2 separate regions of the Homo sapiens genome follow, and region 1 is linked to region 2. Evidence: promoter capture Hi-C in 16 types of primary human blood cells and fetal thymus (Javierre and others, 2016). All regions are on one chromosome and are shown on one strand. Each heading gives the region's core, a stretch centred on a gene start or on the middle of the fragment in contact. The rest is flanking DNA. Distances are from core to core; before and after follow the strand shown. Region 1 overlaps TAGAP-AS1 (TAGAP antisense RNA 1). Region 2 holds the start of IGF2R (insulin like growth factor 2 receptor).

Evidence for each region. The method cuts DNA at HindIII sites, captures the fragments that hold promoters and counts their contacts. A CHiCAGO score of 5 or more calls a contact.
Region 1: a fragment that was not itself captured here is called in contact with the fragment with the promoter of IGF2R in region 2 in 1 of 17 cell types (neutrophils); the score reaches 7.2 in neutrophils.

Annotation. Positions count from the first base shown.
Region 1 is chr6:159,019,115-159,024,033 of GRCh38, forward strand. All of the region lies in intron 1 of TAGAP-AS1 (TAGAP antisense RNA 1), which reads left to right. Among named protein-coding and RNA genes, the nearest start is that of RSPH3, 21 kb to the left of the region's middle. The HindIII fragment of the contact is 4,159 bases long and covers 1-3,440 here.
Region 2 is chr6:159,966,030-159,970,522 of GRCh38, forward strand. It overlaps IGF2R (insulin like growth factor 2 receptor), which reads left to right and starts at 3,053. Exons shown (of 48, transcript NM_000876.4): 1 at 3,053-3,366. The coding sequence starts at 3,218. RefSeq lists silencers at 2,614-3,233, 3,244-3,523, 3,544-3,673. The HindIII fragment of the contact is 4,184 bases long and covers 2,446-4,493 here.

The DNA.
Region 1 (4,919 bases), core at 111-2,610, 950 kb before region 2:
GTTCTGGAGAATACAAAGAGAAAGGAGACCCATTTCTCACCCTTAAGGAAGTTATAGTCTACTGGGAGGAGAGAAACAGGAAAAAATGGTAGATATTAAAATGTGGGGTACAAAAGAGAAAGGGAGGGAGGTGGGGTCTGTGAGTTCTTTAGGTGTCAGAGGTAATTCTTGAGCTGAGGTGTCTGCATGGCTGCGAAGGTCCGGTGGCAGGGTGTGTGGACTGTGTAGACATTGTAGGTAGGGAACTGGAATGAACGAAGTCCCAGGTGTACATCAGCTTTGCATGTGTGTGGGAGCTGCTCCAGAGTAACAGCATGTGGGGTCAGTGATGGAGGGCTGGCTTGCATGCATCAGCACAAGCCCGTGAGGGGCCACGTCAGGGAATAATGACAGTGGCTGTGGCAGTGACTCCAAGAACAAATAGATGTAACCTAGGGCAGGGGTCCCTGATGCCTGGGCCACGAACCGGGTACTGGGTACTACTGCTCTAGGGGAAGGTCTGAAAGACCAGGTGAAAGGGTGGGATTTGAAAATTTTGGGAAACATGATGAAGGTGGGGTTTGGAATGTGAGGCTTCCAACTGTATATACTGCTCAAATTGCATGAGGAGGTGGCGCATGCCTGTAATCCTAGCACTTTGGGCCCAGGAGTTCAAGACCAGCCTAGGCAACATGGCGAAACCCTGTCTGTATAAAAAATACAATAAAAGTAGCCGGGCCTGGTAGTGGACTCCTGTAGTCCCAGCTACTCAGCAGGCTGAGATTGGAGAATTACCTGAGCCCAGGAGGTTGAGGCTGCAGTAGGTGCCAGATTGAGACTGTTTAAAAAAAATTGCGTGGGGAAGACAGCTGAGACAAGGATATTAAATAAGAAGACATTTTATAAGCCTGGCCATTTGAAGATATAGGCTTAGACCAGTAGATTGTAATTTAAATTTTACTTTTTTATTTTCCAACTCTTTAATCTCTAGGAATAACTGGAAATTTTAAGAAGTTACTATCTCTGCTATGGGGATGGATAGTCAGACAGCAATGTTCACAAATTACTCTTGAAACTTGATGCAAACAACCTGTTTAAAAACTGATGTAACGAGAGGAATTTCATGGATGCAAATGAACACCTGTGAAAATTCTTCGGCAAGAACTGTTTCATTTAGCAACACCAGGTTAGCAGTTTGAGAGAGGATCTTTTTTGGGTCTACATGCCCAAATTTACAGACTGTTTTGCTACTTGAATCTGCCATAATGTTTGTTGAATAAATAATCTCTATCTTTGAGGGAGCTGTTGAATTTTTTTACAATCAAAATCCTGAAAGGAATACATTTAGATTGTATGCATCTCAATGTGCTCCGAGGCCTGTGGATGTTTGCTGTTCTTTTTAAAGAATTTAGGCATCTTAACTCTTGGCATATAAAATTATTCTTAGGAACGATATGGATATAATTCAAGTGTAATACCACCTATACATTTGCCAGAAATCACAGATATATATGTGTGTGTGTGTGTGTGTGTGTGTGTGTATATATATATATATATATATATATATATATATACTTTTTCTCATTTCTAGTAACAATGAAAATCCTGTAACTTTTTGCTACAGATGAAAATAACTGGGATCATGAATGAAATGACCAGATGGTTGCCCCATCACCTAACAGTGAGGTGCCCCCGCTTGAAATGTTGCCCCCGCTTGAAATGTTTCTGGTTTCTTTTTTTTTTTTTTTTTCGAGACAGAGTCTCGCTTTGTCACCCAGGCTAGAGTGCAGTGGCGCGATCTCGGCTCACTGCAAGCTCCACCTCCTGGGTTCACGCCATTTTCCTGGCTCAGCCTCCCTAGTAGCTGGGACTATAGGCGCCCGCCACCACGCCTGGCTAATTTTTTTGTATTTTTAGTAGAGACGGGGTTTCACCGTGTTAGCCAGGATAGTCTCGATCTCCTGACCTCGTGATCCACCTGCCTTGGCCTCCCAAAGTGCTGGGATTAAAGGCGTGAGCCACCGCGCCTGGCCAACATGTTTCTGGTTTCTTAAGACTTTAGTATATTGTTCTTAACATTTATTTGGGATGTATTTGCATTTTTGGAAGCTGACCAGTTTCTACACATATCTAAATGCCTCCTTACATTTGACAGTACATTTAACATGCTAAAGTACTTTTCTTAGATATGATCAATTTTATCCTTGAAATAAGCCTATTGGGAGCCATGGACACCAGCTCATTGTGGTGAGGACGCTGAACTCAATGGTGCAGATACAGTGGTGAAGGAGACACACACCCTGTGGTATGGTGGAGTAGACTCCTAACAGACCAACCCTGCCACAAATATAGCAACTATAAACTGGACAAACTACCAAAAGTAACTACTTAAGAGACCTGGGAAGTGAGCAAATGCAGGCAGAGGGGAGTTGAATCTTGGAGGAGAGTGTGAGTTTCCTGTTTTTCAGCCTTGTCCAAAAGATGGGCCCTGGTCACAAAGTGTCTGGGGGTGGCTAAAACTCCCATAGAAAGACTGCCATGTTTCTGGTCTAGGGAACCAGGGGCTGGAGCCTGGGGCAATCATGGCCACGAGAGTGAGGGAGAAATCCCAGAGAGGACAGAGCCAGAGAAGGGGGCACCCAAATGCTGTATCTGAACTCTGCCCAAGTCTCTAGCTGACCCGTGAACCACATGCACACAAACCAGATTCAAAGCCACTTGCAGCTAAGGTTTGGAGTACTGAATTGAGATTTGAATGGCCACTCACCATGAGAGACATGGAGTTTACAGCCTTCAGTGTAACCAAGTCAATTGCTTGTTAAAACAAAGTATCAACAGCCTTGGAATGAATACAACAGAATTTAGAGTCTTGACTTATGAAACATCCACCATGTCCAAAACTACTCAAAATATGAAGGACCAGGAAAATGTGATGTATTGGCAACAAAGAAGTTAATAAAAAGAGGTCAATTTCAGATGACCGAAATGTTGAAACTATTAGTCAAGGAATTTAAAGCAGCTATTGTGCTCAATAGAGTGAAAAAAATGCTCCTAATAAATGAGAAGATAGGAACTTTTAGGAAAGAAATGGAAAATATATAAAGAAAATATACAAAAAGGGGAAATTTTAGAACTGACAAATACAATACATGAAAAAAAAATTGCTGGATGGGCTCTAATAGCATAATGGAGATAGAGAGGAAAGAACCAGTGAATTTGAAGATAGAGCAATAGAAATTGTCCCATCTAAAGGAGGAGGAGAGGAGGAGGGGGGCGGGGGAAGGGAGTGAGAAACATAGAGAGCCTCAGGAATGTGTGGCACAATATAAAAAAAACTGATATTATGGATAGTTAAAATATCAGGAAGAGAGGAGAAAAAGAATGGGATGGCAAATATTTGAAAAAATAGTGGCTGAAAACATCCTAAATTTAATAAGATGTTTACATTTTCTGATTGGATAAGCTTTGTGAATCCCAAATGGGATAAATACAAAGAAAAACAAACTAGACACATCATAGTCAAACTACTGAAAACAAACAAAAAACAAAGAGGAATCTTAAAAGCGTAAATAAAAATGACACATTTTATATATAGGAGAATAATGATTTCAATGGTTGTGGACTTCTCAGCAGAAATTATAGAAGTCAGGGACAGTCGAATGAAATTGTTGAAGTGCTTAAAGAAAAAACTGTCAGCTTAGAAATCTCTGTCTAGCAAAAATACCCTTCAAGAATGAAAGCAAAATGAAGACATCTTCAGATATCAGAAAACTAAGAGAATTCATCACCAGAAGACCTGCACTTCCAGAAGCTAAAGAAAGTTGTACAGACTGAAGGGAGATGATATGAGAAAAGGAATAAAAAGCATAAAAAATTATAAATATTGGAGTAAACATCAAAGACCAATTTTCCTCTTAATTTCTTTCACATATGCACAACTGTATAAAGGACATAATATTGACTTAAGGTTTATATCACATGTAGATAGATTTTATGGCAGCTATGGCATAAAAGATGGTGGCAGTGTTGGTGGTGTGGCCGGGGAGGGTAAATGGACCAGTAAAATTGCCAGTAGACTGAGAAGTTAAGGGATTATATTATAGTCTCTAGAGGAGCTTCTAAGAAATCATGCAAAAGACTAAAAGACCAATAGGTAAGTTAAAATGAAATTATAAAAATATTCACTTAATCCAAAAGAATATAGGAAAGGGAGAACAAGAGGGACTAACAGCAGAGGAGACAAACATAAAGCAAATAATAAAATAATACAGCATAACCAATTAGTTTTATCCCAGGAATTCAAGGTTTGTTTAACATTAGAAAATCAATATAACTCACCATATTAACAGAATAAAGGAGAAAAACCATCTGATCATTTTCATATGTAGATAAAAAATATGACAAAATTTGATATCCATTTATAAGAAAAATTCTCACCAAACTGACTATGAAGGACTTCTTCAACTTCATAAAAAGCATCTATGAAAAACCTACGGTGAGCATTATACTTAATGGTGAAATATTAAATGATATTCTACCAAACTCAGAAAAAAGGCAAATGTGCTCATTTTTTTTACCACTTCTACTCAATATTGAATTGGAGCTTCTAGCCACTGCAATAAAGAATGATAAAATGATAAAGATTGGAAAGAAGGAAGCAAAATCGTCCTTATTTGCAGGCAATACGATTGTTTACATATGATTGTTTTCTACATCCTAAGGATCTAAAAAATAATTAGAAGTAGTATATTATTCCATTCTCACACTGCTATAAAGAACTACCTGAAACTGGGTCATCTTTGAAGAAAAGAGTCTTAATTGACCCACAGTTCCACAGGCTGTACAGGAGGCATGGCTGGGGAGGCCTCAGGAAACTTACAATCATGGCAGAAGGTGACAGGGATGCCAGCACGTCTTCACATGGTGGCAGGTGAGAGACA
Region 2 (4,493 bases), core at 1,803-4,302:
GAGCTTGCTAGAGCAATCTCCTGGTGCCAAACTTCCACGTTTATGAGAATCTCCTGGAGAGCTTGCTAGAGCAATCTCCTGGTGCCAAACTTCCACGTGTATGAGAATCTCCTGGAGAGCTTGCTAGAGCAATCTCCCGGTGCCAAACTTCCATGTGTATGAGAATCTCCTGGAGAGCTTGCTAGAGCAATCTCCTGGTGCCCATCTCCAGAGATTTTCATTCAATAGGTTGAGGCAGGACCCATGAAATGGCATTTCTAACAAGCTGGTAGGTGACACAAAAGTTGCTTGTCTAAGGACCGCACTTTTGAAAACCACTGATCTAGAACAGAGGTTGGCAAGCTTTTTCTGCGGAGGGCCATATGGTAAAATATGTTAGCATTTTCAGGTCATACAGTCTCTGTTGCAACGACTCAACTGTGTCATTGCAGGCAAAAGCAGCCCTAGATAATACATAAACACATGGGTGTGGCCGTATTCCCACAAAACTTTATTTACAAAACAGCTGCCTTACCACATTTGACCCACAGGTTATTGCTTGCTACATGGATTTAGAGTAGCACTTCCACTTTTTTTCTCTTTTTTTTTTTGGAGGAGAGTTGTTTTTTCAGCGCATTAATATTTTGCAATAGTCCAGTTCAGTTTTCTTGTCATATGTTTCACAGTTTGAATTTGATTGTTTTATCTCAATTAGATTAAGTTGAACTTCTTGGCAAGACTACTTGTGATAGTGTGTACGGTAGGGAATAACTGTGAAAGACTTTGAAATGGACCAAAAATATTAGTGGTCAACTGTAATGGAATGCTAGCTGTTTAGTACAGTCTTTTGGGTTATCTGATTCTATGGGGTCTTGTGTCTGCCACTGTCTTTGAGGTATTTTACAACTCTGTAAATTGTAGACTACTGATGGTAATATACACGATTTTTGTCTTTAGAAATGCAAATTGTGTCTATTGCGTACGCAGCTGTTTTTTGACCTATGGTTACTGACCAATTTTCCATCTATAGACAACCTTATTTCAGCATTCCTAACTGCTTGAATATTTGTTGGATTCTCCTTGGATTTTCCTTTGAACCAGCTGTGACATGTTACCGGTTCTCACATTAATGAATGAGCTAAGGAATACCTTTGATACATGTTCATTCTACATCTGAGTCATGATTATACCATCTTTTAAATATTACCCTTTAGCATTTTTTATTGCATCACTTTAGAAAGCAGAAAATGCTAGTTTTTTAAAAATTGGTGATACTAGTTTTAATTACTTGATTAAGGTGGTTCTACCAGATCTTTCCATTGTGAAGAGGTATTTTGTGTTTTTTAAGGAAGTATACTTTGAAGGTGATACTTTGAGACAAAGAGAATATTCCGCTTCACAATAATTTTTCACCAGATGGTTTTAGTATTTACTGATGGTCTTTGCCTGTATCCATTATAACACTGGAGTTGCAAAACACAAACCCTTTTTCTTTTTTTTTTTTTTTGAGATGGAATCTCGCTCTGTTTCCCAGGCTGGAGTGCAGTGGCACGATCTCTGCTCACTGCAACCTCTGCCTCCTGGGTTCAAGCGATTCTCCTGCCTCAGCCTCCCGAGTAGCTGGGACTACAGGCGTGTGCCACCACGCCCGGTTAATTTTTTGTATTTTTAGTAGAGATGGGATTTCACTGTGTTAGCCAGGATGGTCTCGATCTCCTGACCTTGTGATCCGCCCGCCTTGGCCTCCCAAAGTGCTGGGTTTACAGTCGCGAGCCACCGCGCCCGGTCACCACAAACCCTTTTTCGACGTCCACAGTTTACACCTGAGCTCTCCCTTTGACCCACTACAACACTTTCTTTTCTTGGGCAATATATTAATAGCACGGTGGTTATGTCACAGGCCTGTGACTGGCTTGGGCTCAAACCCGGGCTTTTTCACTTACTAGCTGCAAGACTAACTAGTTATTTAATTTCTCCATTCCTCACTTTCCTTATCTGCAAAACGGATGCAATAAAGGCACCCCCTCTTACAGGACTGTTAGGATTAAATGAGCTAAATCACAGTGTCCGAACACTTCAGTACTTCGTACATAATTACTTGCTCAAGAAATGTTAGCTATTATTGGGTCATGATTATTTATATGTGTTTGAATTCCAGCTTTGCCACATCCCAGAGTGTCTTTGAGTAAGTCACTGAGTATCCTTGTGCCTCAATTCCTCATCTATAAGTAGGTTCCCATCTCATAGGTTTTTAAAGATTCATGCTTACATGCTTAGCAGTGTCTGGTATGGAATAAGCACTAAAAAAGATGAGCTTTTATGATGATGATGATTACTATTTTCAGTCATGATTATTTTGTATATTTACTCTAAAAGAAAGTGAATTTTTTTAGTTCAAGACTTTTAGATTCATCGTTCTACTTTCATTGTGGCTAGCTCATGGCCATCCACGTAGTGAATTAATAAAGCTTTGTTGAGTGGCACTTGCTTGACAGCGACACTTTTGTCCACTCTTTCACCTTGCTGGATTTGTGCTGCCTTCCTTGCTGTAGGAAGCCCACGCTTGGGAAATAACATTCCCACAGAAGGTCTGAGAGGCTCTGACGGGCCAAGGTTGTAAACCCCCATGATTTGACTCCACGGGCAGTTAAAGTGTGTTCCCACCCCCCACGGATCCGCTGCCACTAGGCTGTGCGAAGGCATTTACCTCCCTGGCACTTTGATCCAAGTTCCCTATTTTCCCCTACTGGTCGATCGAGGTTGGGAACAGTTGCTCTAACCTGGGAAGCACCCGCCACGATCCAGCAGGGCGCGGTGGGAGGGGAAACTGAGGCCCGGCTAGGCACCCCCGCCGCGCCCAGCCCGCCGAGAGGCTCAGGCCCCGGGAGGCACCTGGAGCCTGCGCCCCGCCCGCGCCGCTTCCTGTCCCGCGCGCTGCGCTCACGTGACCCGGGCCTGGGAGGAGCCGGGGCGGGCGGGGGTCACCTGAACAAGGGAGTCACGTGAGCGGGGGGCGGGGGTGGGGGGGCGGTGCCGGGCGGCTGTCACGTGACGCGGTTCCGGGGCCGCCGCTGCCGCTGTCGCTGTCGCCGAGCCCAGTCGAGCCGCGCTCACCTCGGGCTCCCGCTCCGTCTCCACCTCCGCCTTTGCCCTGGCGGCGCGACCCCGTCCCGGGCGCGGCCCCCAGCAGTCGCGCGCCGTTAGCCTCGCGCCCGCCGCGCAGTCCGGGCCCGGCGCGATGGGGGCCGCCGCCGGCCGGAGCCCCCACCTGGGGCCCGCGCCCGCCCGCCGCCCGCAGCGCTCTCTGCTCCTGCTGCAGCTGCTGCTGCTCGTCGCTGCCCCGGGGTCCACGCAGGCCCAGGCCGCCCCGTTCCCCGAGCTGTGCAGGTGGGTGGCCCGCCCGGACGCAGGCTCCGCTCGCGGTGCCCGGGGTGAGCGGCCGGCGTGGGGGGCGGGGAGCGCTCGAGGAGCTCCTGGGGTCTCCAAGTCGCCTCCGTTCCGCGCCGGGGTCCGCCCCGTTCCCGAGGGAAAGTTGCCTGCGTGGTGTCCGCGAGTCCCGCCGGGTCCCGTGCGCAGGCGGGGGGCGCGGGGGCACACGCGGTCGTGGCGGTCCTGGAGCCCCGCGTCCGGCCACTTGTGGCTGTCGCTGAGTCGGGGGTGGCTTTGTGCGGAGCGGTCGCCCCGGCCCTTGGGGTCGGCGCCTGCCCTCGCGCGGCCGGGCGTCCGGGAAAGTTGGAGGCAGGAACTCCAGTTTGCTTTGTTCCCGCTGCGCGTTTGCATCAGAGTTTCGCCAGCGGGGCACCGGTGAGGCCCCTCGGTGTGGAGAGGCTCACCGGGGCGTTGGAGCCCGCAGGAATGGTCCTGGAGTTGAGTGTTTGTGGTTTCATTTGCTGATTGATTTCCCCCCGTGGGCTCATTTTCTCTTTAAAGAATATATATATATATATATTTTTAGCAGGCGGTGACTTTTGTCTTCTTTAGATTGGGGGCAGGGGGTGTCGTCCAGTGTGAGCTTTCAAGACTTGACCCTTCACTTCTCTGAGCCCAACTTCCTGCCTGGTTGCTCACATGATGTCATTGTCTCCGGGGCGGATTATTCTAGTGGATCTTGCTCTGGGAACCATGATTGTATAACCCATCAGTCCCATCGAGGGCTGTTCACCTCGCGCAACTGCTAGCAGTCCAGGGCCTGGGGAACTTCGAATTTCAGGAATTTTCTGACCATCCTTTTCTGGACTGTTTAGGATGATGGAAAATTCAGCTTTTGTTTATTTTTTTAAACTTTGGTAAAAAGGAAGCAGGATGAAAAGTTTTGAACAGACAACAGTTTCTCCCTGTTACTGTTACTTTTACAAGTTACTTTTACAAGTTACTTTTCAGAGTGAAACAAAGTTGAGCCTACTTTGGGCTGAACTTGGAGTTTGTGGTAGGGTTTATGGGGGGGGTTCTTATTTTTCCCATGCATCAGAGATAGTTTTATTAGCACCCCTGTGTTCAGAACATGCAGAAATTAG